Linked DNA regions of Homo sapiens: region 1 is linked to region 2. The links are contacts of gene promoters, found by promoter capture Hi-C in blood cells and fetal thymus (Javierre and others, 2016). All regions are on one chromosome and are shown on one strand. Each heading gives the region's core, a stretch centred on a gene start or on the middle of the fragment in contact. The rest is flanking DNA. Distances are from core to core; before and after follow the strand shown.

Region 1 (4,984 bases), core at 1,136-3,635, 3.1 Mb after region 2:
TGCCAGATTCACCTGTTTTGCAAACTGATTTTTTAAATTTTCCCCATCTCTACCACACCATTTGCCTGGTAACCATGAAAATGTCTATGTTATTACAGTGGGACTTTCCTCCATTCCCCTTGCCCTGGCCACATTTACTCAATTTGGGAAACTGTCCTTTTCTGGGAATTTTGGAAGTGTAGTTTAGAAAGAAAGATCAGATTATCTTTAAATGCCACTAGGAACTGCAAAAAATGGGAGTTTTCAGTAATTTCGTGAACCAGAAAAGGTGAAGAGTGTGATTATATTTGAGTTCCTGATTCCATTTATTCCCAAGGCCTAACTGCTTTCTGGTCCTGGGGTTCTATGAGACATCACCGTATCCTTAAAATGTATTCCCCTCTTTGTTTAAGCTATTTCCAATTGCAGAACCCATGACTATGGAGTTGGAATACAAAGCAAAGTTGCTCTTCACCCTTCAGAATGACTCTTGCATCACTTGCTCTCACTGAGCTTCACTACCTGTGCAACTTGTACCTGTTTAGTCTCAGCTTGCTTTTAGACGACCATTTTATATAGCAAGATGATAGTTTTGCAGTATTACATCCTGGCATCTGCCTCCTTTCAAACTCAAACAGAGGTATCATGGAGGCAGAAAAAAAAGAAATCAAATTATTGCTTTTGAATTTTAAAATAGATTTTAAACTTGATAGCAGAGACAATAATTTGAGAGAAAAGTTTGAATTCTACAGACTGGTTTCTGAGTATTAAACCTCAAAAACCTGAATGAGTTAGGAAACAAAGCTTAGGGCTAAAAGAAAAGATTGTAAATCACATACCAGTATAAGAGATGGTTTGTCTCACCTTCCATGGAGGTACAGCTATAGATTAGAAAGACCTGTAGGTATCCTCCTTTGTAGATGAACCTAGAAAAGTATCACTAAATCCTCAGGCTACCCAGCATGTCATGGCATTTGAAACAGCAGGATGCTTCTCCCATGTGGCCAAGAGAGATGCAGCTATGGCAACAAGATCCAGGGAACTTGAGGAGACCCAGCAATCAGAATGATAAGGACTTGTGTCTAGAATATACTGATTGAAAGTCTTAAACGCAACAATAGAAAAGAAAAATTACCCAATTAGAAAATGGGCAAAGAATTCTCATTCATTGATTGTGGCAATGCAAAATGGTATAGCCACTTTGCAACACAGTTTAGTTTTTTATAAAACTAACATATTCTCACCATGAAATCCAGCAGTAGTGCTGCTTGGTATTTGCCCAAATAAGCTAAAAATGTATGTCCACATTAAAACCTGTGCAGAATATTTACAGCAGCTTTATTCATAATTGCCCAAACTTGGAAGCAACCAAATAAACTTAATGGAATATTATTCAGCACTAAAAAGAAATATTAAGCTGGGTGTGGTGGCTCATGCCTGTAATCCCAGCACTTTGGGAGGCCGAGGCGGGCGGATCACCTGAGGTCAGGAATTTGAGACTAGCCTGGTCAACATGGTGAAACCCCGTCTCTACTAAAAATACAAAAATTAGCTGGGCGTGGTGGTGTGCACCTGTAGTCCCAGCTATTCAGGAGGCTGAGGCAGGAGAATCGCTTGAACCCAGAAGGCAGAGGTTGCAGTGGGCCCAGATCACGCAACTGTGCTCCAGCCTGGGCAACAGAGTGAGACTCTCAAAAAAAAGAAAAAAAAGAAAAAAAAATATTTAACCATCAGAAGACATGGAAGAAGTTTAAATTTATATGACTAAGTGAAAGAAGCCAATCTAAAAAGGCTACATACTATATGAATCCATCTATATGACATTCTGGAAAAGGCAAAATTATGGAGAGAATAAAAGAGATGAGGGGTTGCAAGGGTTGGGAGCAGGAAGGGATAAATGGAAAATCACAGAGGATTCTTAGGGTAGGAAAAATATTCTGTATGATATTATAATGGTGGACATATAAATATGTCATTATACATTCGTCCAAATGCATAGAACGTACACCACCAAGAGTGAACCCTAATGTAAACTATGGGCTTTGGTTGACAACTGTGTGTTAATGTAGGTTCCTTGATGGTGACAAATGTGCCACTGCAGTGCAAATGTTGATGATTAAGGAAGCTCTGTATTTGGGGAAAGCATATGGACATTCTCTGTACCCTCCTCTCAAATTTTTTGTGAACCTAACACTGCTCTAAAAAACATAGCCTATTTAAAGAAATGGACAAAGGATTTGAATGACATTTCTCCAAAGAAGATATGCAAGTGGCCAATGAACATAAGAAAAGATTCTCAACATCAATAGTCATTAAAGAAATACAAATCAAAACCACAATGAGATACCACTTCATATCCACTAGGATGATTAAAATAAAAAGAAATCTATAACATGTGTTGGTGAGGCTGTATAGCAACTGGAACCATTGTGCATCACTGGTGGGACTGTAAAATGATGCAGCTGCTATGGAAAACAGTTCCGCAAAATGTTAAACACAGTTATCTTTTTAATTTTGTTCTTCTATTTCTCTTCCTTTTTTGTTTTTTTAAACATAATTATCTTATGACCCAGCAATTCCACTCCTAAGTATATAACAAAGAAAAATGAAAAGGTGTATTCACCAAAGCTAGTACACAAATATTCGTAGCTGCACTATTCATAATAGCAAAAAAGTGGAAACAATCCAAATACCCATGAAATGATGAATGGTTAAACAAAACTGATATATCTGTAAATAGAATATTATCTGTCAATAAAGAGTAATTAAGTAGTGTTACATGGATGAACTTTGAAAACATTACGCTAAGTGAAAGAAGCCAGTTTAAAATACTATATATTATACAATTACATTTATAAAAAGTCCAGAATAGACAAATCAACAGAGACAGGAGGTAGGGAATGACTGCTAATGGATATAAAGTTTGTTTATTTATTTATTTATTTATTTATTTATTTATTTATTTTGAGACGGAGTCTCGCTCTGTCGCCCAGGCTGGAGTGCAGTGGCGGGATCTCGGCTCACTGCAAGCTCCGCCTCCCGGGTTCACGCCATTCTCCTGCCTCAGCCTCCCAAGTAGCTGGGACTACAGGCGCCCGCCACTACGCCCGGCTAATTTTTTGTATTTTTAGTAGAGACGGGGTTTCACCGTTTTAGCCGGGATGGTCTCGATCTCCTGACCTCGTGATCCGCCCGCCTCCGCCTCCCAAAGTGCTGGGATTACAGGCGTGAGCCACCGCGCCCGGCCTAAAGTTTATTTTTTGAGTGATGAAAATGTTCTAAAATTAAGTAATGTTGATGGTTGCACAACTTTGCTCTATGCTAAAAACCAGTGAATTGTACATTAAAAGGATGAATTTCATGATATGTAAATTATATATCAGTAGCACTATTATTTAAAAATTAAATTACAGAAAAATAAAGTTATATTTGCCCATCTAAATATGTTGATGAAGAGATTCATTCCCCCTACAGCATGTTTAACATCCAGTGTATTAGTTCACAGACTCTGTTCATATGAAATCGGTTTCAACTAAGGACTCGGGATAATGGAAAAGCTCCCTGATTTTCCTTACTTCACTGAATTACTAAGTGGAATGATCCTGTTGGAATCAAAAGAAAGTCCAGAATATACTCAAAGCCAATGTATTTGTTTCCTAGGGATGCTGTCACAAAGCAGCACAAACTGGTTGCAGGAACGTATTGTCTGCGATTCTGATCAAGTCCAAGATCAAGGTGTCAGTGGGACCATGCGCCCTCTGAAACCTGTAGGAAAATTCTTCTTTTCCCTTTTGTTGGTTCTCTGGAATTCTTTGTCATCCCTTGGCTTGCAGTTGCATAAATCCAGTATGTGCGTTTGTTACCACATGCCGTCTCCATATCTTTGCACAGCTATCGTTTTATAAGGACACCAGTCATATTGGATTAGAAGCCCACACTGCTCCAATCTAACCTCATCTTAACTTAATCAATTACATCTGCCATGACCCTATTTCCAAATAAGCTTAAATTCTGAGGGCCAGGGGTTAGGTACTGGGTTTGGGGGTAGGGGAGTGTCAAGCTCAACATATCTTTCAGGGGACAGGGGCATAACAGTCAGAGACTTGGTTGCAGGAACAGAAGCTAACTGGATGAATGCTTTTGATAAACTATGGATGCTTTTGATAAACTATTAGGAGGATGTTTACATGGTTAAAGAGTTTTTATAAAGTGTTTTGTGGATTTCTTCAAATATGACCTAAAGTCATTTGGAGAAGGGTTAAAAATCTAGAGATATTTGGTCTAGATAAGATTTTAAAAGTGATGTATTAACTCTCCCTCAAAGTTTGATGGGCTCCCTTGTAGAGGGGTTAAATTTACTATTTAGCTCCGGAGGGAAGAATAAGAAACAGGAAGAAGCAAATTCTAGTGTAATATAAAGAGCTTCTTATTAAGTAGACTGTCATGGGAAGTAATGAATTCTCTATTACTGAAATAGTCAAGCACGAAATGGATGAACACTATTGAGGGAGCCTCTTGGGAGGATTTATGCTTCATTTACAGGTGGTTTAGCGTACTTCTAATTTTAAGAATTCTGATTCTACTATTCACTAGTGTGTACTGAGAGCCTTGCATGTGCCAGAGACAGTGTTTCAATCAACATTATTTTAAGCCAACCCCTGGTCTAAGCCAGCTGTCCCATCCAGCATGTGAGTTATTCCTTCTTCCCCTTCCTCGGCATCTTGGCAACTTCTCTCTGGCTTCTTATCTCCTGCAGGGGCTTGAGATGCACTGTGATCAGTCTTCCAAGCACTTTGAACCATGCTATGTAGACAGAAGCCGTGTAAGCCAGTCACTGAAGAAAGGGCATCAAAAAGTGACATTATTGGAAGTTTGGGCTCAGCCCAGGGGAAGGATTTAGATACAATCAATGGCTCAGAAAACGGCTACAAATGTTAATATCTGCCTGTATGTATAACAGTGTTTTAGAGAGAGCTACTCATCTGTAAAAATACATACCAGCCCG
Region 2 (5,571 bases), core at 2,414-4,913:
GATCACGAGGTTAAGAGATTGAGACCATCCTAGCCAACATGATGAAACCCTGTCTCTACTAAAAATATAACAATTAGCTGGGCGTGGTGGCGCACGCCTGTAGTCCCAGCTACTTGGGAGGCTGAGGCAGGAGAATCGCTTGAACCTGGGAAGCTGAGGATGCAGTGAGCCGAGATCGCACCGTCTCAAAAAAGGAAGTAAACATGTCCTTCCTGTTCTCATTTTAAACTTGATTTAGATTTCCAATAATGAAAGACAAGTGGGTGTGTCACATGTGTGCTAGCAATGTGAAACAAATGCTATTCATATTTCTCAATTCATAATTGCAGTTTGATTTTTGATGTTAGTTATGGGCTTTGGATTCCTCTTCAATCAAATCAGCTTCACAAGTTAAATGGATTGTTTTTATTAATTTACAATGAAATAGTTTTTGAATGACTTCACACAAAAACCTAGAGATAACATCACAATTGCAATGTTATAAAGTTTAAAGGCCTATTCATTTCACTGTCAGTTGAAATTCGTTACCAGGTGAAAATTCTGGAGCTGGGTTTTGCACTGAGGATGCTACACAGCCACTAGCCTTTTTAATTTGGTCTTATTAACAGAAATACTGACTTAGTGAAATTACAGGCATAGGCCTCTTAATCGCTTTTTATGAGTCTGAACTTTTGCTTTCAATACCAAATAGTATCTGAAAAACATGCTCACTTTTGTGCTTCTTGAGAAATTCTAAGAATTGGCCCAGATTCATGTGATAGTCATTCCTTAATCCATAGTCACCATGAGCCTCAAGGAGTAACTCTTCAAAAGAATGGAAAAGGCGCAGGTCCTCACCATTTCCTTCTGTCTCCACGCTTTCAGCATGCTTACAGGAAATGTGCTTCCAATTGGGGTACCTAATTGTGTGCCAGAACTCCTCACAGTGCTCTTTGAAACCCTCCACACAGATTATACCAGGCTTTCCTGTCATGCAAAATCCAGTCACATCTAACCTTTTCCCAACATCCAAAATCTTTTTCCTTAGGTCCTGCTGATATATATGGTGACTGTAGATCCACATTCGGAGGAATGTGTTCTTGACTGGCTTTGCTTGTGTAGATGGTTCATATACAAGCTTTCTGTTCAGGAAATAAGATGCACTGTTGTCCTGTAGCCACTGGATTGCTGCACATACACAGAGCTCACCTGGATCAAAAGTCCCTATGTAAGAAGTGAGACCTTTGTTGAGAAGTAGCTGCTGATGTCTGTCAAGTTCAGATGACCGTCCAAACAGCTGCAATGCTACATAGGGGTAGCTGTGAGGCATGGTCACTTGCAAATCAATTTTCACCTTAAAATGAAAATCAAATAGATTTAAATACCATAACATCACATAAGCTAGTTTATCAATAGCAACTGCATGATTTTGAGAAATGTTATTGCTACTATTAAATGTACCAGGTACTTTACATACATGATTGCTTCCTTTTATGCATTATTTCAATATTTATTGAACAACTACGTGTGCCAGGTGCCCTTGTGCTGGGATAAAAAAGTGAATAAACCAGACACTATTTTTGCCCTTCATGAAGTCCAGGGCCTAGTGAAGGAGACACACATTAAACAAATAATTACATATAGCAAGTATTTAATTTCAATTGTGAAAAGCATTACCATGGAAAAGTGGAGGGTTCCATTGAAGTGTGTAACCAGCGGGACAGAATCCAGTCTGGAGAACCAGAAAGTCTCCTCTGAGGGAATAACAACTGAAGGATGAGTAGGAAATAGCTACAACAGTGGTTCTCAAATGCCCAGTCCACGTATTACCTATGCTATGCTAATGTTGCTGGAGATAAATGGATCAGAAGATGGAGGTAAATTCATTTTTAGTCTTTAGATTTTTCCATCCATATTTGCTTTCTGTGTTATGGTGCCATCAAAAAATCCACTCATTCACTCCTTAAAAGACAGTTATGTTACAGGAGATATTTAGATTTATGAAAATCATGATACATGTGAAAGGTAGTCCAACTGGATGGGTGAACAAAATAATAATGGCATAAGACTGCAAGATAGCGTCAATAAAAACTCCAGGTATATTTGTTAAAAAGGTGTATATGTTTACATAAAATTAAAGATATTTACTGAAGACAATTTATAGAGCATTCCGTATCTTTCAAACAAGGAAATATGCACCTGGAATATTTCTATCTTTCCTTGACAGAAAGCTCATGTTCTAGATGTTTCAATTAAAAACTGGGCACCTGGCAAACACTTAAATCAGGGTACCTACCTTGGGCTCTTCAATCTGGAGTGTAATTACAAATTCGATTTTTGGTGGCAGCGCCTCCCTTGTGCCTTCCAAATACCTCTTTATATTCGTCAGGGCATTTACATCTTCAAGTTTTACTTCTCCTTGGTTAGGAAACATAGAAAACAGCATTTCCATCTCCAGTAGCTGAAGCTGAAGGCTTTCTTTCACCGAAGCAGACATGTTGCCTCGCAATCAGCCTGCCTGGAAACCTCACAAGGCTCAGGGACGCTGGGTTTGTCAATGCCAGCCGGTATCCAGCGAAATTTCCCGAAGGTCCCTTTACGTGGAAGCAATTCTGCAGGAACGCTTTGCACCGAGAGCTAGGGGCACAAACCAGACACTTGCACTCTTCTTTATTTCCTGACTCCAAAATCTAGTATGCACAACATCCTCTAAAACACTCCGTAAAAACCCATATTCTGCGTACCCGGGCTCCGGGTTCCCGCCTCCCGCACCCCGCACTAGATAGGGGAATCTGCACTTTCAACAGGTGTTTGGAACTGTCCCGCTGCAGGTGGCAGGCAGACACCTGCAGACGCTCTGCAAGCCTGAATTCTGGGAAAGGCTGGGGCCCGGCTTCCAATCCCACCCGGGGCTCGGGCTTGGGCGGAGCCAGACGCTGCGGCGAGAGAGGCCGCAGTGCCAGCAGGATGGGCTCCGAGTTCCCCAGCGCCAGTCGCCACCCCTCGGTCCTGGACTCGCGGACCGCCCCCCCCCAACACCGCGGTGGCCTTTTCGCTTGGGCCGCATTCCAGGGCTCCGGACGTTTACGATTCACTGGCCTCTGCCCCGAGGGACCCAGGATAAGGGTAGGGGGTGTCTCAGAGGTCATTAAATAAAAGATGTTTACAGTGAGCTGGGGGAAGGGGGTACCCGGGGAGACGGCAGCCGGAGAAGGCTTCCCAGATTCAAAGGTTTGGGAGATGACCTCGACGTCGGAGAGGGGGATGCGGGCCGCCGGCGGCGCTCACTGTGGGCGAGGTCGCCCTGTCCGAGGCCCAGCGACGGGGCTGATTCCCCACCCCCGCCCCTAGCCAAGACCACTAGGAACCCCGGCTTCCCAGGAACGCAGGGCCTGCCGCCCCCAGAGGCCCGGATTTGGAGGCGGAGGCTGTGCCTCCGCGGCCGCAGTGCTCTGAGGGCCCGCGACCCTCGGCCCCAACCCCCGGGCCACCGCGGGGGCCTCACCCTTTCTGGTCACTCAATGGTAACAGCCCCAGACCCCGCTCGGAACCGCAGCCGCAGTTCCTCAGGCGCCAGCTGCGCGCGACCTGCGGCGAGGCGGGGGCGGGGCTGGCGGATAGTCCTCTGCCGTGATTGGCCAGGGGGCGTGGCGACGAGCCGGAAGCCACGCAGGGCCACGTCTGCGGTTCTGAGGACTGGGTTTGGGTGCAGACGTTGTTGCTTGGGCGCTTCTCCGCTGCGTGTAGGTGAAGGGGGCTTCCTGACCGAGGTAAGCCGGGCCCCGAGGCTCGGAGTTGAGAAGGGAGACTACCGGTCGGCAAGGGCTCGGTGGGAGCGGGACAGGTCAGATTCTCGGCCCGACGGAGGGGCTAGTGGTCTGGCGGGCGACTGACCGAGCGGCGGAGCGCGCGGGACACACCTACAGGCCCCTGCGCCCCGCGGGCGGGCTGGTCGGGACGGGCCGCGGGTCTCCTGCCGGGGCTCTGGTACGTGGACCTAGGCGGGGACCTCAGGGTGGAGTGCCGGGAATCACCCTTGTGCGGTGATTCGAGGGTAGGCGGGAGAGAGGCACCAAGGAGATTTGAAGATTGAATGGAGAGTAGGGGGATACTCTTAACTTTTTGCGTGGACGCTGGATTTGGCAAATATGCTTTCAATAAAGGCATTCGCAGAGGCATTGAAAGTAGTTGTAGGGCCTAAAACGCATGAAAGGATGAACTCATATTATCTGGACCTTTTTTTTTTTAATGGCTTTTTGGAGTTAACAGGACTGGTTTACACTCTTATGAATAATCATGACACATAACTGACTGCTCAGTTTTTACAAATATGTATTCATCCTTAGGAAAGAGATCTGATCACTGTCTTGAACTAAATTAGTTTACTGAATGCCAGCTTTTTCCAACTGGACAAAAGCAAGTATTTTTCACCATTTCTTGCAAGTTCTGTTCATTGAAGCAATGAAGGACAATAAAGAAAACAAAATTATGAGGCTAGCAGCTGGCGGACTGCTCCTCATCTCTGGGCTAATTGGGAATTAATTGACCCAGGAAATGTAGTATATGGACTACTGAAGGAAAACTACTGACTGAGGTTGGAAACCCCAAGTTCCACTTAATGGGAGTATCCCAGAGAAAACAGTATTAGTGGGCTAAGGGCCGATTTTTTGTTGTTGTTTGTTTTGAGACGGAGTCTCACCCTGTCGCCCAGCCTGGAGTGCAGTGGCGCGATCTCGGCTCACTGCGACCTCCACCCGCGGGTTCAAGCGATTCTCCTGCGTCAGCCTCCTGAGTAGCTGGGACTACAGGCGCGCACCACCACGCCAGGCTACTTTTTGTATTTTTAGTAGAGACAAGGGTCTCACCATGTTGGTCAGGCTGGTCTTGAATTCCTGACCTCGTGATCCGCCCGCCTTGGCCTCCCAAAATGCCGGGATTACAGGCCTGAGCCACCTCACCTGGCCTGTTTTTTTTTTTTTTTTTTTTTTTTGAGACCGAGTCTCCCTTTGTCACCCAGGCTGGAGTGCAGTGGCGCGATCTCGGCTCACTGCAACCTCTGCCTCCCGAGTAGCTGGGATTACAGGCGCCAGCTAACACGCCCGACTAATTTTTTTGTATTTTTAATAGAGAGGCGGTTTCGCCATGTTGGCCAGGCTGGTTTCAAACTCCTGACCTCAGGTGATCCGCCTGCCTTGGCCTCTCAAAGTGCTAAGATTACTGGCGTGAGCCACCGCTCCCGGCCGATGTTTTATTTTTAAAAGTAAAGGAAAAAGGTGGCATTCTTTCAGAAGAAGATATTGCTAGTTTTAGAGCAACATCTTAGAAGGGTGTCCTGATTGTTTTTAGCAAATGGAAAAAGATCTGGGTAGTCTTGGAGAAGAAACTGTTGCCTTTTGCTTTTCCTTTAAGAATATGTCTCTGTAGTTTGGGAGAAATAGCAAAAGAACCACAAAGATTTCTCAGATATTTGGGGATATGTAGTTTCAGTCCACTCAAGAATCTGACTTTAGGCCTCAATCCGTCACCAGCTATCTATGTTAATTTAGGTTAGTTTCCCTTTTTGTAAAATGAAATGATCTTTGAGCTCATTGG

The links. The method cuts DNA at HindIII sites, captures the fragments that hold promoters and counts their contacts. A CHiCAGO score of 5 or more calls a contact.
Region 1: a contact is called between a fragment that was not itself captured here and the fragment with the promoter of PGM3 in region 2, in 1 of 17 cell types (non-activated CD4 T cells). The highest score is 5.0, in non-activated CD4 T cells.

What each region holds. Positions count from the first base shown.
Region 1 is chr6:80,099,744-80,104,727 of GRCh38, reverse strand. No RefSeq gene overlaps it. Among named protein-coding and RNA genes, the nearest start is that of BCKDHB, 4.4 kb to the left of the region's middle. The HindIII fragment of the contact is 3,199 bases long and covers 786-3,984 here.
Region 2 is chr6:83,191,357-83,196,927 of GRCh38, reverse strand. PGM3 (phosphoglucomutase 3) reads left to right here and starts at 3,663. Exons shown (of 13, transcript NM_015599.3): 1 at 3,663-3,749. It overlaps RWDD2A (RWD domain containing 2A), which reads right to left and starts at 3,571. Exons shown (of 3, transcript NM_033411.5): 1 at 3,485-3,571; 2 at 2,276-2,616; 3 at 1-1,333. The coding sequence starts at 2,476. The coding sequence ends at 656. RefSeq lists silencers at 3,273-3,642, 3,943-4,012 and an enhancer at 3,201-3,700. The HindIII fragment of the contact is 15,181 bases long and covers 1,120-5,571 here.